Linked DNA regions of Homo sapiens: regions 1, 2, 3 and 4 are each linked to region 5. Evidence: promoter capture Hi-C in 16 types of primary human blood cells and fetal thymus (Javierre and others, 2016). All regions are on one chromosome and are shown on one strand. The core of a region is centred on a gene start or on the middle of the fragment in contact, and the rest is flanking DNA. Distances in the headings are between cores, read along the strand shown.

Evidence for each region. Contacts are between HindIII fragments. The CHiCAGO score rates a contact against its expected background, and 5 or more counts as called.
Region 1: a fragment that was not itself captured here is called in contact with the fragment with the promoter of CSF3 in region 5 in 8 of 17 cell types (M1 macrophages, M2 macrophages, erythroblasts and 5 more); the score reaches 6.3 in M1 macrophages.
Region 2: a contact is called between a fragment that was not itself captured here and the fragment with the promoter of CSF3 in region 5, in 1 of 17 cell types (neutrophils). The highest score is 5.3, in neutrophils.
Region 3: a fragment that was not itself captured here is called in contact with the fragment with the promoter of CSF3 in region 5 in 1 of 17 cell types (naive B cells); the score reaches 5.4 in naive B cells.
Region 4: a fragment that was not itself captured here is called in contact with the fragment with the promoter of CSF3 in region 5 in 1 of 17 cell types (naive CD8 T cells); the score reaches 5.7 in naive CD8 T cells.

Annotation. Positions count from the first base shown.
Region 1 is chr17:40,157,271-40,162,490 of GRCh38, reverse strand. It overlaps CASC3 (CASC3 exon junction complex subunit), which reads right to left. Exons shown (of 14, transcript NM_007359.5): 4 at 580-738; 5 at 338-489. MIR6866 (microRNA 6866) reads right to left here and starts at 558; the gene lies at 490-558. The HindIII fragment of the contact is 7,918 bases long and covers 1-5,220 here.
Region 2 is chr17:40,191,991-40,197,195 of GRCh38, reverse strand. RAPGEFL1 (Rap guanine nucleotide exchange factor like 1) reads right to left here. Exons shown (of 15, transcript NM_016339.6): 11 at 4,933-4,983; 12 at 4,503-4,590; 13 at 4,206-4,270; 14 at 3,779-3,833; 15 at 1,546-3,532. The coding sequence ends at 3,408. MIR6867 (microRNA 6867) reads right to left here and starts at 3,599; the gene lies at 3,533-3,599. RefSeq lists enhancers at 2,579-2,628, 2,253-2,753. The HindIII fragment of the contact is 6,356 bases long and covers 1-4,854 here.
Region 3 is chr17:40,263,793-40,268,993 of GRCh38, reverse strand. WIPF2 (WAS/WASL interacting protein family member 2) reads right to left here. Exons shown (of 8, transcript NM_133264.5): 5 at 3,848-4,504. Among named protein-coding and RNA genes, the nearest start is that of CDC6, 21 kb to the left of the region's middle. The HindIII fragment of the contact is 189 bases long and covers 2,476-2,664 here.
Region 4 is chr17:40,237,519-40,242,694 of GRCh38, reverse strand. All of the region lies in intron 1 of WIPF2 (WAS/WASL interacting protein family member 2), which reads right to left. Among named protein-coding and RNA genes, the nearest start is that of WIPF2, 21 kb to the right of the region's middle. The HindIII fragment of the contact is 5,946 bases long and covers 1-5,176 here.
Region 5 is chr17:40,013,415-40,018,396 of GRCh38, reverse strand. It overlaps CSF3 (colony stimulating factor 3), which reads right to left and starts at 2,957. Exons shown (of 5, transcript NM_172219.3): 1 at 2,883-2,957; 2 at 2,552-2,706; 3 at 2,057-2,164; 4 at 1,766-1,912; 5 at 584-1,602. The coding sequence starts at 2,922. The coding sequence ends at 1,438. PSMD3-AS1 (PSMD3 antisense RNA 1) reads left to right here and starts at 3,756. Exons shown (of 3, transcript NR_198981.1): 1 at 3,756-3,843; 2 at 4,038-4,159. RefSeq lists an enhancer at 2,548-3,047. The HindIII fragment of the contact is 16,036 bases long and covers 1-4,982 here.

The sequences.
Region 1 (5,220 bases), core at 1,250-3,749, 140 kb before region 5:
ATGCCATTCAGTACCTTTGAAACATCTCCTTTCTCCTAAAAGGCAACCTATGCAAGTATTTCACTTCTCAGACGCCTTACACCTCAGACTAAGAAAAGCAAAAGTATAATAATTAAGAGAAGATGAGTTCTGGAAACAAACTGTCCTAGGTCTGTATCTTAGCTGCCTCACCAAGAGTTACCAAATATTCTAAGCCTACTTTCCTCATTTGTACGATAAGGATAATCATAATACTTATCTTAAAATGCTGTAATAAATGAAATACAGGCAAATCGAAGTACCTGGCCTACATGTGTAAAATACATGTTAGACAGCAGCAGCAGCAAGTGGCTTTTACCTGACTTCCTCCTCCTGAGTTTGCCCTCGAAGATCATGCTCAAAGAAGAGCCCTTTCCGAGGTATGTATGCTGGATTCTTCCGATCTTCATCATCATCCAAATGCTTAGGGCCCTTTTTACCCACTTTGTTCTCCACAGGCTCTGTGCTCTCCTAGAGGACAGATAAAGGGATCCTTACTCTTCCAAGCCTCAAGAATCTCTATTCCAGCCTCTAAAATGGAGGACTGTGGAATGTACTAACCTGTCCGTCCCCACTTTGCCTCTCTCCAGTCACAGTGCTTTTGGTGTCAGGCTTTTCTTCTCCCTTCTCTTCTTTTGTTGAAGAATTAACAGCATCATTAGCTTCTGATTTCAGCTCCACTTTGGAGTTTTCCTCTTCACTGTATTCACCTTCTTCACCCTGAAAAAAGTTTCCCTGTCAGCGATGCATATAAGATCTGAACGGTGCATTTTAATTCCCACCCCTGCCCCCAACCCCAAAACAAAGTCTCTGTCACCCAGGCTGGAATACAGTGGCACAATCTCAGCTCACTGTAACCTCTGCCTCCAGGGGTCAAGCAATTCTCCTGCCTCAGCCTCCTAAATAGCTGGGATTATAGGCGCCCACTACCGCGCCTGGCTAATTTTTGTATGTTTAGTAGAGACCAGGTTTCACCATGTTGGCCAGGCTGGTCTTGAACTCCTGATTTCGTGATCTGCCTGCCTTGGCCGCCCAAAGTGCTGGGTTTATAGGCGTGAGCCACCGTGCCTGGCTGCATTTCAATTTTCTACTCTTTAGGAATACATTTATCAATAAATTTTTAGTACAACATAGAACTGAAAAGCAAACAAATCAATATTCTTACCCATATTTCTAGAAAATAAAGATCCTATTTTGGCCTGGCACAGTGGCTCACGCCTGTAATCACATTTTGGGAGGCCAATGCAGGCAGATCACCTGCGGTCAGGAGTGTGAGACCAACCTGGCCAGCATGGCAAAACCCCATCTCTACTAGAAATATAAGAATTAGCCGCACTTGGTGGTAGGCACCTGTAATCCCAGCTGCTCGGGAGGCTGAGGCAGGAAAATCGTTTGAACCAGGGAGGCAGAGCTTGCAGTGAGCAGAGACTGCGCCACTGCACTTCAGCCTGGGCGACAGAGCAAGGCTCTGTCGCAAAAAATAGTAATAATAAAAAAAAGACACTATTTTAAAAATATCACATTAAAAAAAATACACACATACATACATATATATCCACATAGGTATTCCTGGAACATATGCAAGAATTATTAAAAGTGGCAGGCTGGGCGCAGTGGCTTACACCTGTAATCCCAGCACTTTGGGAGGCCGAGGCAGGCGTATCACTTGAGGTCAGGAGTTCGAGACCAGCCTGGCCAACATGGTGAAACTCTGTCTCTACTAAAAATACAAAAATTAGCCGGGAGGCGGAGGTTGCAGTGAGCCAAGTTTGTGCCACTGCACTCCAGCCTGGGTGACAAAAGCAAAACTCCATCTCGAAAAAGCAAAACAAAAAAACAAAAAAACAGCGGCAGCCTCTAATGGGCCCAGAGGATAAGAATGGAAGGGAGACTTACTATACGATACCTAACATATAAGAGGAGCTTAATCTTCCTTGATAATCTCTCTCTCCATGAATTATCTTTTTTTTTTTTTCTGTTTTGAGACAGGGTCTTGCTCTGTTGCCCAGGAGTGCAGTGGCACAATCATGGCTTACTGCAATCTCAATCTCCTGGGCTCAAGTGATCCTCCCACCTCAGCCTCCCAAGTAGCTGCGACTACAGGCACATGCCACCACACCTGGCTGATTTTTTTTTATTTTTAGTAGAGACGAGGTCTCGCTATGTTGCCTAGGCAGTTCTCAAACTGCTGAGCTCAAGCAATCCTCCTCCCTTGGCCTCCCAAAGGGCTGGGATTACAGGCATGAACACTGTACCTGGCCCATGAATTGTCTCTTAAACATGCAGTGCCTAATAACTATACTTTGACGTAAGTTGTGAACTCTCCCATCTCAAAATGGCTTAGAGCAGAAATTCCCAACCTTTTTGATTATGCGGACCCCTTTTTAGGATCTAAAAATTTTCATGGATCCCCATGAGATATTCACTGAGAAAACATACAATGACAAACAACTGCTAGGCTGGATGTAGTGGTTCACGCCTGTAATCCCAACACTCTGGGAGGCCGAGGTAGGTGGATCACTTGAGGTCCGGAGTTTGAGACCAGCCTGGCCAACATGGTGAAACCCTGTCTCTACTAAAAATACAAAAATCAGCCAGACATGGTGGCATGAATTTGTAATCCCAGCTATTTGGGAGGCTGAGGCAAGAGAATTGCTTAAACCCAGGAGGTGGAGGTTGCAGTGAGCCAAGATTGCACCACTGATACTAGTCTGGGCAAAAGAGTGAGACCCTGTCAAAAAAAAAAAAAAAAAAAAAAAAATTCGCCAGGAATGGTGGTGTGCGCCTATAGTCCCAGCAACTTGGGAGGCTGAGGTGTGAGATCATTTCAGCCCAGGAGGTAGAGGTTGCAGTGAGCCATAATTGTGCCACTGCGCTCCAGTCTTAGCAACAGAGAGAGATCCTGTCTCAAAAAAAAAAAAAAAAAAACACACAATGAACTGATGCGTGCGTGCCTGTAGTCCCAGCTACTCAGGAGGCTGAGGCGGGAGAATCACTTTAACCTGGGAGGCAGAGGTTGCAGTGAACCGAGATCGCACCACTGCACTCCAACCTGGACAACAGAGACTGTCTCAAAAACAAACAAAAAACAACAAACTGTTATACATTCAATAACACTTTAAGTTTACATTTTATTAATTTACATATATTCAAAAATAGTAGTACATAAGGGGGGAGATGTATATTTTAGTCTATAGATAATGAGAACTGAATGAGTAGACATGCAACTCTTTTTTGAGACAGGGTCTCACTCTGTCGCCCAGGCTGGAGTGCAGTGGTGTGATCTCAACTGACTATAGCCTTGACTTCCTGGGCTCAAGTAATCCTCCCACCTCAGCCCCCACAAGTAGCTGGGACTACAGATGTACACCACTATGCCCAACTAATTTTTGTATTTTTTGTAGAGACAGAGTTTCACCACATTACCCAGGCTGGTCTGAAACTTCTGAGCTCAAGCGAACCTCCTGCCTCAGCCTCCCAAAGTGCTAGGATTACAGGCATGAGCCACTGCGCCCAACCAGATGTGCAAACTCTTGATAATGACTCCATGATTTCCCAATGCACTTATCCTCAAGCTGGAAAATGGTAGCTTTTTTTAATGCCTATGAGTACTGGTTTTCTGCAGCAGAAAATTCCTGCAGCCAGAACATATCCAGAATCACATAATTACAAAAATTTGACCTAAAAAACCTTAAAGGACAACTTGTACAACCATCACATTTCAGAAATGAAAAAAATTAGTCCAAGTGCTCTCTCTCTCTTTTTACTATCTTCTTCCCTCTTTTACCACATCAAGATTGGGTAACACTGTTCATGACACAGAAAGTGCTGGGTCTACACACAAAGGATCATTAGGCCATTAGAAAGGGCCAGGAAATGGACGTGTGGCTAGTTCTAGGTAGGAAAAGGCAGCAGCTAAGGCTCATGATAAGGGAACTGGCTTTAGAATAGGGTTACTCTCCTCTCCTTGTCCTCCCCAGATTTGGACCTAAGGAGGCAGAGCTATGGCTAGGGAGGCCTACGAGAACACAGAGAAATGGGTTCAAGGAAAGGTGGTCTAGTCTTCATTGGTGGGTTACATCTGAAACCTGGTAGATGTATGTACACTGGTCTCTCACTCACCTACTGGGTCTGATACTTGAACTGAACCAGACTGCCCTGTCACTCAAGACCCAGGCTGGCCCCAATAATCTGGTCAAAGAGGCTCAACATGAGATTCCTGAATTCCTGATTGAGAAACTCTCAAACTCTAAGTTTCTGCCATCTCTTCAAATAGAGCTGAGTCAGCCTGATTGGCCCAGACAAGCCAATTAATCCCTCTTCCTCATTTTTCCCTGCTCAGCATCTGGGTATAGTTGACGCTGGAACAAGGGGTTTGAACTACTCAGGTCCACTTCTACGCAAATTTTTTTTCAATAGAAGTTGCAGCAAGTATGCCTGCCTCTCCTTCCACTGCCTCTGTCACCCAAGGCAGCAAGATCAACCCCTCCTCTTCTGAAGTCTACTCAATGCAAAGATGATGAAGACCTTTATGATGATCCACTTCCACTGAATAGTATGTTTCCTTAATAGTGAATGATTTCTTAATAACATTTTCTTTTCTCTAGCTTCATTGTAAGAGTACAGTACATAATACACATAAAATATAAAATACATATTCACTGACTGTTTATGTTATTGGTATGGCTTCCAGTTGACTTAGTAGTTAAGTTTTGGGTGAGTCAAAAGTTATACTTGGAATTCTTACTGCAACAGGGATAGGTGTCCTTTATATTTTATTTATTATTTATTTATTTTGGAGACAGAGTCTTGCTCTGTCGCCCAGGCTGGAGTGCAATGGCGCGATCTCAGCTCACTGCAACCTCCACCTCCTGGGTTCAAGCAATTCTTATGCCTCAGCCTCCTGAGTAGCAGGGACTACAGGCGTATGCCACCACTCCCAGCTATTTTCGTACTTTTAGTAGAGATAAGGTTTCACCATGTTGCCCAGGCTGGTCTCAAAGTCCTGAGCTCAGGCAAGCCGCCCACCTCGGCCTCCTGAGGTGCTGGGATTACAGGCATGAGGCACCACGCCCAGCCCCTTTTAATTAATTAATTAATTAATTTATTTATTTATTTATTTATTTATTTGAGACGGAGTCTCGCTGTTGTCCAGGCTGGAATGTAGTGGTGCAATCTCAGCTCACTGCAAACTCTGCCTCC
Region 2 (5,205 bases), core at 427-2,926, 180 kb before region 5:
CTCAGAAAATGCTCTGGAATTGTAGCCGATGGGACTGGCTGAGATGAATGAAGGGTGGGAGAAAGAGGCACCAATGGTGAGTCCTGTATTTTTGCCTTGAAAACTTGGGTAGGTGGCTGGGCAGTGGCTCACAGCTGTAATCCCAGCACTTTGGAAGACTGAGGTGGGTGGATCACTTGAGGTCAGGAGTTTGAGACCAACCTGACCAACATGGTGAAACCCCATCTCTACTAAAAATACAAAAATTAGCCGGGTGTGGTGGCCTCTGCCTATAATCCCAGCTACTCAGGAGGCTGAGGCAGGAGGATCACTTGAACCTGGGAGGCAGAGGTTGCAGTGAGCCAAGATTACGCCACTGCACTCCAGCTTGGGCAACAGAGAGAGAAAACCTGGGTGGATGAGAGGATCATTTTTCTGAGATGCAGAAGACTGAGGCAGAAACAGATGTGAATGGGGATTATCAAGGGCCCAGGTATAGCTATTTGAGTGTATGATGTCTCCTGGAACTCAGGCTATCATTTAAGCCTAACGCTAGGCTCTCTGCACCCTATAATCTTAGTAGGATTGGGCCAGGCGCAGTGGCTCAAGCCTGTAATCCCAGCACTTTGGGAGGCCGAGGTGGGCAGATCACGAGGTCAGGAGATCCAGACCATCCTGGCTAACACAGTGAAACCTCATCTCTACTAAAAATATTAAAAAAAAAATTAGCCCGGCATGGTGGTGGGCACCTGTAGTCCCAGCTACTTGGGAGGCTGAGGCAGGAGAATGGCATGAACCTGGGAGGCAGAGCTTGCAGTGAGCAGACATCACGCCACTGCACTCCAGCCTGGGCAACAGAGCAAGACTCCGTCTCAAAAAAAACAAAACAAAACAAAACTTAGTAGAACTGGTAAATATTGGTTGTGTGAACAGTACATGCTGTCTTCAGGGGACAGACCTGGGTTAGGGGACCAGTGCCCTCACTAGTAATTATTCTGGGACTGCTGTGCCTCAATCTTCTACCTTAGCATTAGAATTAAATGTGATCTCATATTTATGCCACCTGGAACATGTATGAACGAAAACATCCCATCCCCTCTTCTGAGTTCCAGGCATTATGTGACATGTCTTGTGAGGTTGGCATCTTTTCCTCTCATCCACATTTTCTTTTTTGGCAGAGTCTTGCTCTGTTGCCCAGGCTGGAGAGCCACTGCGCCTTGCAACCTCCGCCTCCTGAGTTCAAGCTACTCTCCTGACTCAGCCTCCCAAGTAGCTGGGATTACAGGCATGCACCACCACACCTGGCTAATTTTTGTATTTTTAGTAGAGACAGGGTTTCACCATGTTGGCCAGGCTGGTCTCGAACTCCCGCCCTCAGGTGATCTGCCCGCCTCGGCCTCCCAAAGTGCTGGGATTACAAGCATGAGCCACTGTACCCCGCCACCCACATTTTCAAAGTCACTCCAGAACAGCCCTGCTCCTGACAGCACTGGGCGGCCATCCCCTCTCCCCTCCCTCAGCACTTCCACAGCCTCAAAGAAAACAGAATGGAGAACAACAGGCAGGTTGATTCATAGACTTTATCGGCTTCTTCTCCACCCAGCGGTTTCTGCAATGACAACCGCGCCTGTACAATACACATGGTTCACTCTGTTAAAGCTGCAGGGCAACGGGAGGGGGCTGGGGGTCCCTGGGCAGGCATCAAGGCTAGGGGTAAGCAGCAGCCAAGACTGGGCCAGTGGGTCCCAGTGTCCGACCCAGAGGGTGGTGGCAGCTGGAGTTCCAAGGCTGTTGGAAGGGGTCAGGAGGAAGGCTGGGAAGCCAGGGGCTGCAGGGAGAGGAGAGTGCATCAGCAGTAGCAGGGAGGGGGCAGGGAGCAGAAGGGGGCCCATGGGACACTGTCAGGGCAAGAGGGCATGGGACACAGCACCTCCTATGTCCATAGAGGATTTTTGCTGCAGGAACAAGACAGATCACTGTATAAAAGGGTCTGTACAACATTACCTATGATACAATGTTCACATATGATACAAGGCTCTTTCCCTCTTTGAGTTTTAAAAAATAAATGTACAATTCCAGAGCTTTGGGTAAAAAATATATACACCCTCATAGCAGGAGCAGCAGCTGCTTTTGCTACGGCTGTTGCTGTCTCTTCAAAAGGGAAAGAGGTGGTGCCAGAAAGAAGGGTGAGTCTGTGCCAGGAAACCTCACCCAGTAGCTGCCAGGAGCCCCTGCACCCCTCAGGCCTTGAGGCTGGTGATGGGAGAGGGAGGGGAGTAAAGGTAATAAAGGCCTTGCCAGAGTCCAGTGGCGCCTTTACAGTCTCTGCCATCCCCCTCCCCCACTTTGGGGCTGCCTGCCCCAGGTATAGGGATCCACCCCACCCCAGCTCTATGGGGAGGACAAAGGGAGAGTCAAAGAGAGAGGGACAGAGACCATGTTGTTGGTGTCAGACACATGAGCCAGAAGGGGGATGTCAACTCCCTCCTTAGCAGTTAGATATCCCAAAAAGCAGGAGTGTGGGCAGCAGACAACCCTAGCTCCTGATACTGCTCTACCCGAGCCCACTGCAAGGCAGGGGGAGGGTCCTCTAGGCAGCTGAGGCCTGTGTTTCCCTGAGCATCTTTTACCCTCTCATCAGAGCCCATCCCTGGACCTTCCAGAGGCCTGAGTGGGGGACTTGCAAGGGCTGATGGGTAACCCCTCCCACCTGCTGCTACTCCCTGCCCCAAAAAGCAGCTTGGCTCACAAGCCTGGGCATGCAGGGCAGCACGAGGAGCTGAGCAGGGAGTGTGGGGGTGGAGAAAGCACCCCGCACCATCCAGGGGCAGAGTAGACAAGGGTAGCACCAAACAGAAGGACCCCTCCCCAGCACACACAACATCCACCCTCAATTACCAGATGCACTCCTGCTCCCTAAAAGAAGACACACACACACACACACACACACACACACACACACACACACACACACACACACACACGGCAACATAATATTCCTGGGGGTCCCAGCCCTGACCAGGAAGAAGCTGGACAGGTGGTGGAGAAGAAGGCTGCCAATCCCTCCCACAATCCCACTCTGCAAGACAGAAGGGTGAGCAGCATTCTTTCCTGCTGCAAGAGGAAGTTGGAAGCTCCATCCCCAGAACAGATCTCGATGGGAGGACATAGAGGAAGGAGCTTTCTATCCCCTTTCTCAGAGGGGACAGGAACCAGCAAAGTGTAGTTTTGGCTTGAAGGAGCAATGGGGAGGGGACTTCAGCAGGATGAACAGACTTATGGGTCCAGGGGTAAATCCATCGACCTCTTTCCCGTGGAGCAGGAAGTTGCTCCACGGGAAAGATGTCAGATGTTGGTTGAGACATCGTGCAAAGTGCTTGAGTGCCAGGTGCCCAAGGATCTGGCGGGTCTGACTGGAGCCTCCACTCTCACTGACTGTTTGCCTCCAGCTTGTAGGAGAGCTCGAAGAGGAGGTTCTGGTTGTCGATGACCTGAAACTGGCGCACATAGGCCTTGGTCTGCAGGTGATTGGGGGATGCCTCCATGTCCAGGCCTAGTGGGTAAAGAGGGAGAGGCAGTCAGGTTCCCAGCTTCCCTTCTTCCTCTACACACACACCGGGCAGAAGATCAGGCTGTGGACTGAGACAGATGTTGGGCAGGAAGGCCTCTGCAGAGGCAAGGAGAGAATGGGGAACCAGCAAGTGTATGGAAATACACATCTGGACAGGGAGTTCTCCCCTGAACCCTCCCGTTCAGTCAAAGCTCTATCTGTACTGCTCTCAGTACCCTGGGTACTCACAAAGGGGCCGGCTCCGGTATTTGCGGATTGTCCTCACTTTTTCGGCCACTGAATGCTGGGAGATGACAAGGAATGAGCCTTGAAAGGGGCACAGAAAGAGGCTCCCCCTCTTATGCTCCCCCTCCGCCATTCTCCCACTCTGCTTTACTCCCTCCAGTCTCCAATTCTGGAGGGTCTCTGAAGGACCAAAGGAGTGGGTGTAACAGAGTGCCATGTGAGGGGGAGGTGAAGTTGCCCCCAAGCTGCCTGTCAGCTCTGCCACCTGTGGGTGGGTTGCCACAGTGATGCCACCAGGGAGACAGTCAAGAGTCTGTTAGGCAAGCTGGGCACTTGGAGGAAGGCTGCTATTTTTGGGAGGTGATGAGAGAGGGAGAGGATGCAAGCCCCCCACTTGTGGGACTAGGGGTTTGCAGTGCCACTCACTCACCAGCTTCTCGATGTTCACCAAACCATCTACAAGGGTCTTACTCCCTTCGTGCAGGAAAGTCAGGTCTAGGGGATGTGGAGAGAATCCAATGTGAGGAAAGGATAAGAGAGGAGTTCGAAAGGGGCCACTGCACCCGAGGACCCCGCTCTTCCCCAGAACCCACTCCGTCTGTGGTGGGGGGCTCCTCTCCAGGTGGGTACTCAGGGCTGAGTCGAGAGGGAGCTGGAAGTCAGAAGCAGGGCATAGGAGAAGGGAAGCATGGGTGGAAGCGGCACAGCTTGGGAGTAACTCTCTCACCTTTGAGGATCAGAGGCACGAAGGGAATCACAGGGGGCTTCATTTTGGAGATCACTTCTCGGTAGCTTTTGTGGTTCCTGCAGGGGTCCTAGTATTCCACAGGAGAGAGATCAAGGGACAGACTGGCCAATGCATCCCAAAGATGTCCTCAGCTTCCTCCCTCACCCCCTGCCTTGTATACATTCCTGATCAGATAGGGGTGCTGGGGGCTTTCTAATGGTGTGGTGGGGAGGGACCTGACTACTCCCCCTTTCCTTCAAGAAAAACAGGGGCGCAATCCTTCCAACCTCACCCTCCAGCATGGTAAGGAGGGTGGGGGGTCCCATACACTAAACACCTTGAAAGGAAAGCTTGAGGAAGGGGGTTTATGGGAACAGAGGGTTTCTGGGCTCTCAGTCCAAGAGCAGAAGAAAGAGCCAAACCCACTCACCGTCAGGTTCTCAAATTTGCGAAACAAGTTCTTGAATTTCCCTGGCAGCTTCTGCAGAGTTTGAAGGAAGGAGAAGGGATATCAGAGTGGAGCTCCTTGGGTTACATGGGAGCCTCGGATTAATTCTCCCTGTTGGAGGGCAAAAGGGCCTGCATGGCTTGTAGGGGGCTGGGAAGCTGGTGGGTGGGGAAATGAAGTCAGGCCTTGGCTAAGTCTAGAGGCTTGAAACAGCCCAGAGGAATTCATTATTCTGGGGAAGGCCAGGTCTGTCTT
Region 3 (5,201 bases), core at 1,321-3,820, 250 kb before region 5:
CCAGGCTGGTCTTGAACTCCGTCTCAAGCGATCCTCCTGCCTCAGCCTCCCAAAGCACTAGGATTACAAGTGTGAGCCTGTGTCCCTGACCCCCACTGTACTTTTCAAATGTACATTTTACAGGTGAGAAAAGAGAATCGGTGAGAAAAGAGAATCAGTGATCTGTCCAATGTCACACAACAAATCGAGGCAATACTCAAATGATCTCTGACTAAAATATCTCAATTTTTTTCTGGTTTATCACTCTTAAGAATTGCTGCTCTAGCCAGGTACAATTGCTCACATCTGTAATCCCAGGGCTTCGGGAGGCCAAGGTGGGAGGATGGCTTGAGCCCAAGAGTTTGAGTCCAGCCTGGGCAACACAGACCTCATCTTAAAAAATAAAAATAAAAAAAAATTTTAATGAGCCAGACATGGTGGCAACACTCCTGTAGTCCTAGCTACCACAGAGAAAGAATGGAAAAGTGGGAAGCAAGAAAGCCTGCAGACATTTAAAAGTGCTCAGCTCAACCCACGGAAATTGCATTTTTCTCTTCTTCTATTCCTGGATGAGGTCAGAAAGATATGAGCTTTGCTCAGACAAAGAGTCTTTTGTAAAATCCCTAAGTTAAAAAAAAAGTCAAACCTGAACTTTATAGAATCAAGGGCCACCTTAGCACTACCTCATTATGGCTAAAGCTAGGGAGATATGGGATCAGGAATGCAGTAGGCCACTGTTTGGCTGCCCTATGTTAGATGGCCAGCTGCTAGAGTACAAATCTGTATGTACTGAACAAAGAAGCTGCACACAGGTTAATGGACTTTTAATGCCTTGCTACTTAATGATATAACCTTTACCCTTTTTTTGGGACAACGTCTTGCTGTGTTGCCCAGGCTGAAGTGCAGTGGCACTAATACAGCTCACTGCAGCCTCCACCTCCCAGGCTCAAGTGGTCTTCCCACCTCAGCCACTCAAGTAGCTGGGACTACAGGCATGCACCGCCATGCCAGGCTAATTTTTTAAAATTATTTTTTGTAGAGACAGGGTTTTGCCATGTTGCCCAGGCTGGTCTCGAACTCCTGGGCTTAAATGATCTGCTGGCCTCAACCTTCCAAAGTGCTGGGATTAAGGCGTGAGCCATCATGCCCAGACTCCATGACATAACTCCTTAATCAATGTTCTATACCTGTAGAAACTGACTTTAAAATAAAAGCTAAGGGCTGGGCGCAGTGGCTCACTTGAGGTCAGGAGTTTGAGACCAGCCTGGCCAACACGGCGAAAACCCGTTTCTACTAAAAATACAAAAATTAGCCAGATATGGTGGCACATGCCTGTAATTCCAGCTAGTCAGGAGGCTGAGACACAACAATCACTTGAACCTGGGAGGAAGAGGTTGCAATGAGCAGAGATTGCACCACTGCACTCCAGCCTGGGCGAAAGAGCAAGGCTCTGTCTCAAAACACAAACAAACAAATAAATAAATAAAGGCCAAGAAGCTGTTTGTGGAGGGTATGTCTCAAAGTCTAATGATACAACGATATGGGAGCCAAAATTCCCATGTCCAATAAGGCCCCAGAGAGCTGTCACGGTCTCCCTCACTCTAAAATTTCAGTTATGCTAATTATAACGAGATTACACAACCTCTTCTTTTTCCAGGGTTCCTAAATTCCCTCCTCACCCAGCTTAGGCTCCATTATTGCAATCACTCCCTCACATACACCCTTCCCTTCCTGCCCCACTCTCCCTTAGAGTCGCACATGCCTAAAACATGCTAACGCTGGTTAAACACAGCTCTACTCTTTTTCTGTACCTGCAAATCACAACTGAACACATGAGACTAATTAATCTCACATGAAATGTATGGCCCATAATCTCAAGTGGGCCCTTCGCGTGGTTGCCTATCTGAGCACACTTCCCTAGTCCACCCACACTCCCACGCTCCAGATGACCATTTCATGCCTCTTCTCTCTCCTCAACTCTCCTTCTCCTTCCCTCGCCTCAATCACAGCTGATGCTCTTGCTTTCCATTTCACTGAGAAAACAGAAGCAAATTAGAATAAACTTTCCACATGCTTCTACCACTACACCCACCTACCCACTTGCTTCTAAGCCTATATGCTCTGCCTCCCCTCTTGTTACTATGGAAGAACTATGTTCCTATCTAAGGCCAACCCTTTTTATCTATCGATCACATTCTCTTTTCTCTGGCCTCCTCCAGGTCATTATTCAGGCAATCTGTTCCCTCTCTTCTGATTCAATTTTTTCCCTCTCTCCTAAGTTTCATGCTACTCATTCCATCAGCATACAAATAGGTCTCCCATCTTGGGATGGGAAAAAAACAACTCTCAACCCCACATCTTCGTCCAACAATCACTTCACTTATCTTCACCCCTCTCTCCTGGACTTTACAGCGAACTCTTTAAGAGATTTCTATATTGCTATCTCCAATTTCTCTCCTCCTATTCCTGCATTCTTGAACCCACTCCAATTAAGCTTTCACTTTCACCCTCCACCACTCCACTGAAACTACTCAAAAGGGTCCCATGATACTAAGACCAATGCCAGTTCTTGGTCTTTAACTTACCTGACCCATCTGCAGCACTGGGCACAGCTGACCACTTACTCTACCTTGGAGTTTTTCCATCACATTCTTGGTTTTTCTCCTTCCATCCTCACTAGAAGCTTTTCTGTTTCCTCTGCTGGGTATTCTTCATCTCTTTTGCCTCTAATGTAGGAGGGCGAGGGCTCAGCCCTCATTTTTTTTTTTTTTTTTTTTGAGATGGACTGTCACTCTGTCGCCCAGGCTGGAGTGCAGTGGCGTGATCTCGGCTCACTGCAACCTCTGCCTCCTGAGTTCAAGCGATTCTCCTGCCTCAGCCTCCTAGGCCTCTTCTTATCTATATTCACTCCTTAGGTGACTTCATCCAGCATGTGGTTTTCAACACCATTCAAATGTATCTCTCTAGCCGAAACCTCTCCCCTCAACTTTGGAGTCTGATAGCCAATTACCAATTCATTGTCTCTTCTTGATTACCTAACAGGCATCTCAAACTTGTCTCAAACTGAACACCTATCTTCCCACAAATTCACAGTAGTCCTAACCATCTGGCCGTTTACTGCAACAGCCCAGTAACTGGTCTCCTTTTGTCACCTTTGTCCTCCTGCGGTCTGTTCTCAACATAGGAGTTAATGATCTTTTTAAAAGGTGAATCAAATCATACTACTTCTCTGTTTAAAACCCTCCAGTGGCTTCCCATCTCACACAGTTAAATCCAAGGTCTTTGCAAAATCCTGCAGTGCGCTCTCCCCTGCAGCTCCAGCTTTCCAACCTCCAAGTCCTACCACTCTTCCCTCCCCTCACTCTTTGTAGTCTTGCCACAATGGCCCCCTTGCTGTCCCCAAAATGTTTCAAGAATACTTCTGCCTTATGGCCTCTGCATTTGTTGTTCCCACTGCCTGCAACAGCTGTTCTCCTAGATAACTACTAAGCTTACTCGTCACTTTCTTAAGGTCTTTGTCAAATTTTCACCGTATCAGTAAGGACTGTCCTGACTCTCTCCCCACTCCTCCAATTAAAGATATCATCATCCCGACCTCCGCCCCAGTATATCTTATTCCTCTCCTCTGCTTTGTAATTCTCTAAAGCATACTGCATACTATGTATTTATATATTTTACTAGTTTGACTGTCAAATTTTTTTGTCTTTTCTATTTATTGCTATTTCCCTACCAACAGACCTGACACATAAAAAGGTACTCAATAAACCCACTGAGTGAATAAACGAATTACTGTCTTCAAGGAGTGCTCTGGGGAAAGATAAAATCAACTCACAGCATGATAGGGAAAAAGGTGCTTCCAAGCACTTACCTGCTCCCCGACTGGGAGGGTCTCGGGCTGGGGGAGGTGGCCTATTACTCAGTAAAGATGGGGAGGCCGAGGTGGGTGGAGGAGGTGCTAGGCCTCTGACAGGCCCTGGTGTCTTCCTATGCAAAGAATTGTGTCTCTGTGGCAGCTCAGGGGCTGACTCATTAGTGGGGCTAGAGGGTCCATTGGGGACCCCAGGAGGCTGGCGGTAAGGCGGAGGAGGAGGAGCCAGAGACTGGCCACTTGGTCCTGTTCTGATATTCACAGGGGAAGGAGGTGGTTTGACTGGGGGTGGAGCAGGAGGTCCCTCTCGACCAGGGTGAAGCCTTTGTCCAGGCGTCGGTGGCAAGGGTTTCTCTCTGTTGTAGGCGGGGGCTTTGCTGCTGTGCATAGGCAGAGGTGTGGGGGGTGCGTTGGCACGCCGCCCTGGGGGTGGTGGGGGAGGGGCAGAGGAGCTGTGCTTCATGCCCGTACTGCTGGTGGTATTAGGCCGAGAGAGGTCCGGTAAAGAGGGTCTCTGCATCCGGGGCAGTTCTGGGAGTGAGGCCCGGCTGCTGTCTGTATCATCCTGAGGACGCCCGCTGGCGGCAGATACTGGAGGCCTTGGGGCAGCAGCTCGAGAACTGGGGATTTGCAGGGCTGGCTTACCAGCTAGGTTCTCTACAAATACATAGACAACACAGGGTCAACAGAGCTGGACAGATATTGGTCAGTATCCCTACTTCACTCGGCTCCTTAGTGCAACCTGCATGGCAGCAGGGAAAGGAATTGAATAATTCTGGGTTTTTTGTTTTTCTTTTTTTTTTTTTTTTTTTTTTTTTTTGAGACGAAGTTTCGCTGTTGTTGCCTAGGCTGGAGTGCAATGGTGCAATCTCAGCTCACTGCAACCTCTGGGTTCAAGTGATTCTCCTGCCTCAGCCTCCCGAGTAGCTGGGATTACAGGTGTGCGCCACCACACCTGGCTGATTTTTGTATTTTTAGTAGAGATGGGGTTTCACCACGTTGGACAGGCTGGTCTCGAAATCCCAACCTCAGGTGATCTGCCCACCTCGGCTTCCCAAAGTGATGGGATTACAGGCGTGAGCCACCACGTCCGGCCTAGTTCTGGGTTTTAATACGGTTTCAGGCTCAGGATACACTGTTATTTATTTTAAATGTTACTTTATTTTTGACAAGTAATAATTTTATGTATTTATGGGGTACAATGTCTCGTTATATGTATACGTTGTGGAATGATTAAATCAAACTAACATATCCATCACCTCACATATTTTTTTTAATGGTGAAAACACTTAAAATCTACTCTACAACAGGCGCAGTGGCTCATGCCTGTAATCCCAGCACTTTGGGAGGCCAA
Region 4 (5,176 bases), core at 1,400-3,899, 220 kb before region 5:
CACAGTGGCTCATGCCTGTAATCCCAGCACTCTGGAAGGCCGAGGCAGGTGGATTACCTAAGGTCAGGAGTTTGAGACCGGCCTGGCCAACATGGTGAAACCCCGTCTGTACTAAAAATACAAAAAAATTAGCCAGGCGTGGCGGCGGGCGCCTGTAATCCCAGCTACTCGGGAGGCTGAGGCAGGAGAATCACTTGAACTCGGCAGGCGGAGGTTGCAGCGAGCTGAGATTGTGCCACTGGGTAACAGAGTGAGACTGTCTCAAAAAACAAACCAACAACAACAACAACAACAAAAAATTTCTTGGTTTTTCTTTCTTTCTTCCTTGAGAAAGGGTCTCACCCTACAACCCAGATTGCAGTGCAAGTGGCACAATCACAGCTCACTGCAGCCTTAACCTCCCAGGCTCAAGCAATCTTCTCACCTCAGCCTCCCGAGTAGCTGGGACTACCACATCCAGCTAATCGTTTTATTTTGATTGCAAAGACAGGATCTCACTATGTTGCTCAGGCCAGTCTCAAACTCCTGACCTCAAACAATCCTCCTGCCATAGCCTTCCAAAAAACTGTTTCAATGGAAGTTGTAAAATTGTATTACAGCTATTTCTATAGAGCTGCTCATCTTAGAATGCAAATCAACTCTATGTCAGAGCCAACATGGCCTCCTCAGCTGTATTTTAGTTAATAACAGCCACAAGATTTCCAAGAACTGAGAACTAGGGTACCACAGTTAGCCTCTGCAACACTGCTAAGACAAGTACTATTTGGCTCTTAACCTCTAAGCAATTCACAACCAAGGAGCAGCTGCAAACACATTTCCAGATACTTTACAGACTGGCAGCAAAAGATACAACCCTTTTTCTTTTCTAGGCGTAGGAATCTATAATACAAAAGGGAGAATTGTGTCCTTTTGATTGTAAAGTTAAAAACAAACTTCAAATCACAGTGCTTCAACATCTCCAAAAATGACGCTGCATAAACCCAAGGCAGATTAGGACATCTGTTTTCAAAGCCTGAGTCAATTTTCCATTTCACCAAAAACACTGATTCCTGGACTTAGTAAATTGGTGCAGAGCAGCTCAATGTTCATAACTAGTATTTCCTCCCCTGTACATCCCAGGAGCGGGTTTAGAGACGCTGACTAAAAAAAATGAAGTCACACAAGCCCAAAGTTATTACCATCAGCCAACATTTAATACTAAAGAGGGGAGTTAATCAGAGGAAAGACACACATGCTAATTCAGAAATCCAGACCAAAGCTAGACAGGCTAAAACAGAGTCTGAATACAAAAGCAGTATTAGGGGAAGGCTAAGGAGTTTGCCATGGAGATGTAAGATGGCATTAATGGTTTAAAAAGAATCCTTCTAAAGCAGGGTTTCCAAACTTGCCTGAAGATAAGACATATTTAGGGCATTTGTTTAAAAACAAACACACTTTAAAAAAAGATCCCTGGGCGCTAATCTAAACCAACTAAAATCAGAAGTTTTCCAGGAGAATGATCTGGTAATCTGTATATCCAACAAGCACTTTAAGTGATTCTTGGTGTTAGGGAAGTCTAGAAAACACTATGCTAAAGGAGTATTAGTAATCAACTGTAAAGACACTGTGGTGTCTGAATGGATATTGGCAAGGAAAAGCTGATGAATATGTTGAATAACATGTTAAACATAATATATTGCATGCATTAATCAATGTTCCATCATAAAACACCATTAAAATTACAGCAAAAGGATTTTTTTTTTTTTTTTTTGAGACGGAGTCTCATTCTGTTGCCCAGGCTGGAGTGCAGTGGCGCTATCTCGGCTCACTGCAAGCTCCACCTCTCGGGTTCATGTCATTCTCCTGCCTCAGCCTCCCGAGTAGCTGGTACTACAGGCGCCTGCCACCACGCCCAGCTAATTTTTTTGTATTTTTAGTAGAGACGGGGTTTCACTGTGTTAGCCAGGATGGTCTCCATCTCCTGACCTCGTGATCTGCCTGCCTCAGCCTCCCAAAATGCCGGGATTACAGGCGTGAGATACCGTGCCTGGCCAGGATTTTTTTTTATAAAGACATAAACCAAACAACAAGCAAAAAAACTGGGAAAGGAGACAGCAGAGAGAGAGATGTCAACAAAGTTTTGGAAGGTAAAAAGCAAATGCACTAGTGATAAATAACTTCACAAAAGTAAAAAAAAAAAACAAAACACTGCAGTGGGAAGAAGCAAGCAGATTCCCACCACAGATGAACTTCTGAATCAAAACGTCTCAGAAATTAGAGGCACCTGGTACCTCGGGAAGATGGGGTGATAGTGTAGAAGGGGCTAAACAGGAGGACTGGTTGAAAGTCTGGGACTGGCACGGTGGCTCACACCTGTAATCCCAGAAGTTTGGGAGGCCGAGGCAGGTGGATTACTTGAGCTCAAGGGTTCGAGACCAGCCTGGTCAACCTGGTGAAACCCCGTCTCTACTAAACATACAAAAAAATTAGCCGATTGTGGTGGCTCATGCCTGTAGTTGCCAGCGACTTGGGAGGCTGAGGCAGCAGAATTGCTTGAACCTGGGAGGTGGAGGTTGCAGTGAGCTGAGATTGCACCACTGCACTCCAGCCCGGGCAACAGAGCAAGACTCCATCTTAAAAAAAAAAAGAAAAGTCTGTATAACAAATGGATTCCTCCATCCCTCCCCATGCTGCCAGGCAAATTAGAAAAGTTAAACCAGGCCAGGCTCGGTGGCTCATGCCTGTAATCCCAGCACTTTGGGAGGCCAAGGTGGGTGGAACACCTGAGGTCAGGAGTTCAAGACCAGCCTGGCCAAGATGGTAAAACCCCACCTCTATTAAAAATACAAACATTAGCCGGGCACGGTGGCAGGCACTTGTAATCCCAGCTACTTGGGAGGCTGAGGCAGGAGAATCCTTTGAAGCCGGGTGGCAGAGGTTGCAGTGGGCCAAGATAGCGCCACTGCACTCCAGCCTAGAGATGACAGAGTGAGACTCCGTCTCAAAAAAAAAAAAAAAAAAAAAGAAAAGCTGAACCAAAGAGTCCAAAGGAACTAGTCACAGCTAAGGGCAGTGACGGAAATAAGGGTATCAAGTGAAAAGCCTAATGAGTCAACGGTGAGACCTCTCCTACCTCCCCAGCTCCTTTCTCTCACTTGGCTCCAAAAACATTGGCAGCCAGACTTACACTCAAACACCTGCCACTGGCTTATACTCTCTAGGCAGGGGACTGGAGGAGTCCTTTTACCAGCCTGCCAGGGTGCCTGTAATCCCAATACCCTATAGTAGGGTCCACCACTTGATGAGCTTCTTAGTGTCACATTCTTAAAAATAAACAGAAGCCAAGGCTGGGCGCAGTGGATCACGCCTGTAATCCCAGCACTTTGGGAGGCTGAAGGGGGCGGATCACGAGGTCAGGAGATCGAGACCATCCTGGCTAACACAGTGAAACCCCGTCTCTACTAAAAATACAAAAAATTAGCCGGGCGTGGTGGCGGGCGCCTGTGGTCCCAGCTACTTGGGAGGCTGAGGCAGGAGAATGGCGTGAACCTGGGAGGCGGAGCTTGCAGTGAGCCGAGATCGCACCACTGCATTCCAGCCTGGGCGACAGAGCGAGACTCCGTCTCAAATAAATAAATAAATAAATAAATAAATAAATAAATAAATAAAATAAAATAAACAGAAGCCAGACACAGTGGCATGAGCCTGTAGTCCCAGCTACTTGGAGGTAGGAGGATAACTTAAGCCCAGGAGTTTGAATCCAGCCTGAGCCCCACAGCAAAACCCCATCTCTTAAAAAATAAATGGCCGGGCACGGTGGCTCACGTCTGTAATCCCAGCACTTTGGGAGGCCAAGGCGGGCGGATCATGAGGTCAGGAGTTTCAGACCAGCCTGACCAAGGTGGTGAAACCCCATCTCTACTAAAAATACAAAAATTAGCCACACTGATGGCAAGCGCCTATAATCCCAGCTACTCGGGAGGCTGAGGCAGGAGAATCGCTTGAACCCGGGAGGCGGAGGTTTGCAGTGAGCCGAGATTGTGCCACTGCACTCCAGCCTGGACGACAGAGTGAGATTCTGTCTCAAAAAAATAATAATAAATAAATAAATAAGGGCAGGTGCAGTGGCTCACACCTGTAATCCCAACACTTTAGGAGGCCGAGGCAGGCAGATCACCTGAGGTCAGGAGTTCAAGACCAGCCTGGCCAACATGGTAAAACCCTGTCTCTACAAAACTACAAAAATTAGCCGGGCATGATGGCGGGTGCCTGTAATCCCAGCTATTTGGGAGGCTGAGACAGGAGAATTGCTTGAACTGGGGAGGCAGATGTTGCAGTGAGCCAAGATCGTGCCATTGTACTCCAGCCTGGGCAACAGAGCCAGACTCCATCTCAAATAAATAAACAAATAAATAATAAAAATTGAATAAGCAGCTAAGAATTATCAAACAACTGAAGAAAATCTCTAACACGAAAGATAAGAATCAAAGTAACAAAACAGAATTCCTGACAATGTCCAAAAATACATGTAAAATTCAGATAATAAAAAGAGCCCTTGGAGACAGGGGTGGTGGCTCACGTCTGTAATCCCAGCACGTTGGGAGGCCAAGGCGGGTGGATCACAAGGTCAAGAGCTTTTTTTTTTTCTTTTGAGACGGAGTCTCCCTCTGTTGCCAGGCTGGAGTGCAGTGGCACCATCTTGACTCACTGCAACCTCCGCCTCCCGGGTTCAAGCAATTCTCCTACCTCAGCCTCCTGAGTAGCTGGGATTACAGGCGCACGTCACCACACCTGGCTAATTTTTTTTTTTTTTTTTTTTGGTATTTTAGTAGAGACAGGGTTAGGAGTTTGAGACCACCGTGACCAACAGGGTGAAACCCCATCTTTACTAAAAATATAAAAATTAGCTGGGCGTGGTGGTGTGTGCCTGTAATCCCAGCTACTTATGAGGCTGAGGCAGGAAAATCATTCGAACCCGGGAGGCCGAGGTTGCAGTGAGCCGAGATCACGCCACTGCACTCCAGCCTGGGCGACAGAGTAAGACTCTGTCTAAAAAAAAAACAAAAAGCCCTTGGAAATTAAACAAACTGATAACAGGAATTAAGCGACAACAGAGAGTCGGAAGAACAGCTAAGGAAATCTCACAAAAATTGAATGAAGGAAAAAAAAATTAGGGTTGGGCGTGGTAGCTCACACC
Region 5 (4,982 bases), core at 1,708-4,207:
GGCTGTGAGCTTAGCGCTCTTCAGCCCAAGGCTGCCACAAGCAGGAAGTGACCAGCTGGGGCGAGTGCAGAGACCGAGTCTGAGGAGAGAAGCTCTGACCCCAGTGGTCACCTTGAACTTGGCTTCCACTTTGTGGGCAACTTGATGGATGGGCTCAAGTTTATGGAAGATGGTAAATGACAAGCCTGGTGCAGATGCTCAGCACTCCCTGGCTTCATCTTGTCTGGCTGTGTCTGGCCTGTTAAGCCCACCCAGACCCCATGCCCTCTCCTTTCCGGGTTCCCATGGTCCCTGTGCCTCTGTCTTCCCTGCCAGGCTTTGGCTGCTCGAGTGCAGATTCCATGTCTGCCTTGTTCCCTGCTGTGTCCCCAGCACTTAGCCCAGCGTCTGCACAGAGTAGGTGCTCAGATAAATATGTGCTAACGGAATGAATGTCAGACGAACTTGAGAACTTTCCTCCTCCTCCCTGGACCTCCTCCCCAGACCTCCTCCCCGACCTCCCTCTGGCCTCTCCCACCCTTCAGCCACCTCCCCAGCCCCTGGCCAGGCACCAGCTGGACTCAAGAAGGAGGAAGGACGTGACTGGAGGCAAACACTTTATTATCCTGAAGTTCAGTTACAATGTGACAGTGGAGGGGACACTGGTGAGTGGGGGGTGAAGAGGTGGAGGGTGACAGTGGAGCTTCCTTTCACACACAGGCCTGACATGATTCCTCCTGTCTGCTCCCTCCCACATCCCCAGTCCCCGTCCAGCAAGGCAAATGTCCAGGCACCTGCCTGGCCCTAAAAAGAGTCACAGTCCTGACCCTCGTGGGGGCAGGGCAGGTGTCCCGAGGCCACCCAGAAAAACAGGAGACGCGTCGGTGATGTTCGGGAGTCAAACCATGTCCCAAAAGTCTTAAGAAGAAAAACGAGATTCCCCAGCAAATTCGTGGGACCCCAGGGCCATGCCTCCCAGCTCTGGCCACCTCTGCTTGTCCAGGGGCCTCACAGCCAAGGGGATGCAGGGGCCGCTGTGCAGTCGGCTGAGGCCAGAGTGAGGGGTGCAAGGACCCAGATGGGGAACACTGCTGTTTAAATATTAAACAGGGATTTCTTGTCTCCCACGTGGGAGACCTGATACTCTCAAGGGTCCCAGGTGGGGACCCTCAGGACCAGGGGCTCACAGCGGCTCATCCCAGTGCCCATTGCAGAGCCAGGGCTGGGGAGCAGTCATAGTAATAAATACTTGGTATTTACCTATCTACCTCCCAGTCCAGGGGATGGGAGGACAGGAGCTTTTTCTCACTGCTACAGGCAGGAGAATGAAACTCAGAAATGCAGGGAAGGACACAGAGGCCTGGGGCTCCGTTCTGCTCTTCCCTGTCTTTAAATATGAGGCTTAAATAGACATAAATATTAAATAGAGATAAATACATGGGATGGGGAGGGCTTGGCTCAGGGCTGGGCAAGGTGGCGTAGAACGCGGTACGACACCTCCAGGAAGCTCTGCAGATGGGAGGCAACCAGGACCCCTCCTGCCCGGCGCTGGAAAGCAGAGGCGAAGGCCGGCATGGCACCCTGGGTGGGCTGCAGGGCAGGGGCCATTCCCAGTTCTTCCATCTGTGGGGGAAAGCTGTGATCAGTGGTTGGGCCCTTCTGAGTGGGCGTTATTACAAATGAGGAAATGCTGGGGGTGACAGCATGGACAGGGCCCATACACAGGCCTGGCTGTGGTGCCCAGAATGCCAGCACGACCTTGGCCACCCTGCCCAACAAGGCTCACCTGCTGCCAGATGGTGGTGGCAAAGTCGGCGACGTCCAGCTGCAGTGTGTCCAAGGTGGGACCCAACTCGGGGGAGATCCCTTCCAGGGCCTGCAGGAGCCCCTGGTAGAGGAAAAGGCCGCTATGGAGTTGGCTCAAGCAGCCTGCCTGTGAGACAGAGCGGAAGAGTTAGGGGGTGCTGCCTGAGATACGTCAGGCCCCCAGCTTGGAACCTGGAGACATGGGGGAGCCCATGGGTGTTCCTCCTCTCCTTCCCCCTCCTCATTAGCCTTATCCTTTCCTGACACTCACCAGCTGCAGGGCCTGGCTGGGGCAGCTGCTCAGGGGAGCCCAGGGGATGCCCAGAGAGTGTCCGAGCAGCACCAGCTCCTCGGGGTGGCACAGCTTGTAGGTGGCACACTGGGGATGGAAGGATGCTGAGTGAGACTCGCCATGGCCGGGTCGCCGCTCCTTCCCGGGTCCTCCCCGACTCTCTGGTCTTTCCCCTCCCTCCATGTCCTGCCAGGCTGTTCAGTTCCTCTCTGCCCTGCACCCCCACTCTCTGATCTCACAGGGGCCCTTGCCCTTTCTCCTGAATGTAATGCCTCCACTCCCATCCCAGCCAGCCCTCCCGAGCACTGTCCCCACCAAGGTCCTCCTCCCCAAGTCCCTTCCCAGCCTTCCCCAGCTCCACTGCTCCTAATATTCTCCCACGTCCCTTCCAGAGGATGTTGGCCCTGCAGTTCCATCCCCCTTAGCTCTCCCCACCGGGCTTCCCTCCACAGCCCTCTCACCCACCTCACTCACCAGCTTCTCCTGGAGCGCTGCGCCATCGCCCTGGATCTTCCTCACTTGCTCTAAGCACTTGAGCAGGAAGCTCTGGGGCAGGGAGCTGGCAGGGCCCAGGGGGGTGGCTTCCTGCACTGTCCAGAGTGCACTGTGCCACAGCAGCAGCTGCAGGGCTGGGGACAGAGCGGGCTCAGGAGACATGCTGTTCCCTACCACCTGAGGCCCTCTCGGGGACACTGGGTGCCTTTAATCCCCATTCCCAGAACGGGGATCCCCAGCCCCTCTGTCACACCAGCCTCCCTCCCATGCCAGGGCAGGCGGCTCTCCCATCCTGGGCCAAGACACTCACCCATCAGCTTCATGGGGCTCTGGGTGGCAGGTCCAGCCATGGGTCTGGGTGGGGCTGGGCTGCAGGCTCCGGGCTGTTTTGGGGCCCAGCTCTAGGGGGGCCTTTATACATAACCCCATGGAGGCCTGGGAGGAAATTACCTGGGGCCACGACTAAGGCTTAGTAATAACTTCCCAGGATTTATGCAAATTTGGTGTCCAAGACAATGCAGGGGGGTTGGAACAAAAAGCTGTTTGCGAAAGTTTTGTGAAATTGTGGAATCTCTGATCCTCCTTTGACGTCGCCTTGCCCCCCTCAAACTCCCTTCCTCCCGCTGCCCCACCCAGGCCTGAATGGCCCCAGAGTGTTTGAACAGAACAGCTGAACAAAGGCTGAGCCGCTGATAGACGCCTGGAAGCGGCAGCAGCCTGTGGGGAAGTGGCAGCTGAGTCGGGGTCTCCCTCTCTGCTCTGGCAGACTTGCGGGGGCAGTGTCCTTTGCCCCTCTCCTTTGGGATTCTCAAGCCTGTCCCCCAAGCCCCCAAATTCTAAGAGAGAAAAAAAGAAGCTGGTTGCTCCCATTCCTACCCCCAAACTCTCCGGAGGCTGCCTGTCTGGGAGACCTCCTGAGCCCCTACCTGAGATAAGGACATTGGGTCTTGGCTGCTGTGCCCACCCCACACTTGGATAGGCACCATCGAAAGTTCCAGGCTGTCCTGTCCCAAGTTGATTAGCTGGGAACTCCCCCAGAAACCCCCCCGCCCCCCATGACTCATTCGGCTAAAGCCCCTAGAATCCCGGTAGAGCCAGAGGAAACCGGATGTCTGTCCCGAATGAGGCAAGACCCTTCGAGGCGATTGGCTCACCTGACCTTCACCTCCTCGTGCACGACCCTGACAGTAGGGTCCCCAAGGGCTTTGGAACTGCGGGATTGGGACACGTGACTTCCCTGGTCATTCACCTTGAAGTGGACACGGGCTGGGGTGAGAGAGGGGAAACTGCCCCATCTTCTCATCTTAGAACCATGCAGCGTTAATGCTGGAAGGGACCTTGGAGTCGATTCCAACCCCGTGAACTGGGCCAGGGAAGGAAGTGCCTTGCCCAAGGTCATGGTAAGTGACAGAATTACAGCCTGGGCCTCTGGCTCAGACCTGAACGTTTTCTTTTTCTTTTCCAGATGGAGTCTTGCTCTGTCGCCCAGGCTGGAGTGCAGTGGCGCGATCTCGGCTCACTGCAAACTCTGCCTCTCGGGTTCACGCCATTCTCCTGCCTCAGCCTCCCGAGTAGCTGGAACTACAGGTGCCCGCCACCATGCCCGGCCAATTTTTTGTATTTTTAGTAGAGACGGGGTTTCACCGTGTTAGCCAGGATGGTCACGATCTCCTGACCTCGTGATCCACCCGCCTCGGCCTCCCAAAGTGCTGGGATTACAGGCGTGAGCCACCGTGCCCGGCCTAGGCCTGAACGTTTTCTACAGGCCACAAGGCCTGCCTGGGGCAGTCTGACTGACCACACCCAAGACTGTCACCTTCTGTCCTAATTTACCCCAGCGTGCCAAGAAACAGACATCTCTGGATGAGAAGTGGATGTGGTGACTGGATGGGGCCATCTCTGGTGCTTGGGGGCCCCCTGGTGGTCACCAATGGCAGGGACGTCTGATCTCACACACTGATCTCACACACTGTTATCTGGTCCGCGGTCCTGCAGCTCCGCCTTAGCTCTGTGGCTCAGCACCTTGCACTGATGTGGCCCAGCTCTGTACCCAGCTCCCTGGGAGTAGAGGGTGGGTTTTTGTTGTTGTTTTTTTGAGATGGAGTTTCGCTCATTGCTCAGGCTGGAGTGCAATGGCACGATCTCGGCTCACTACAACCTCCGCCTCCCTGGTTCTAGTGATTTTCCTGCCTCAGCCTCCCAAGTAGGTGGGATTACAGGCATGCACCACCATGCTCATCTAATTTTGTATTTTTAGTAGAGGTGGGATTTCACCATGTTGGTGGTCAGGCTGGTCTCGAACTCCTGACCTCAGGTGATCCACCCGCCTCGGCCTCCCAAAGTGCTGGGATTATAGGCATGAGCCACTGCACCTGGCCTTGAGGGTGGGTTTTTAACAGGACCATGGAAG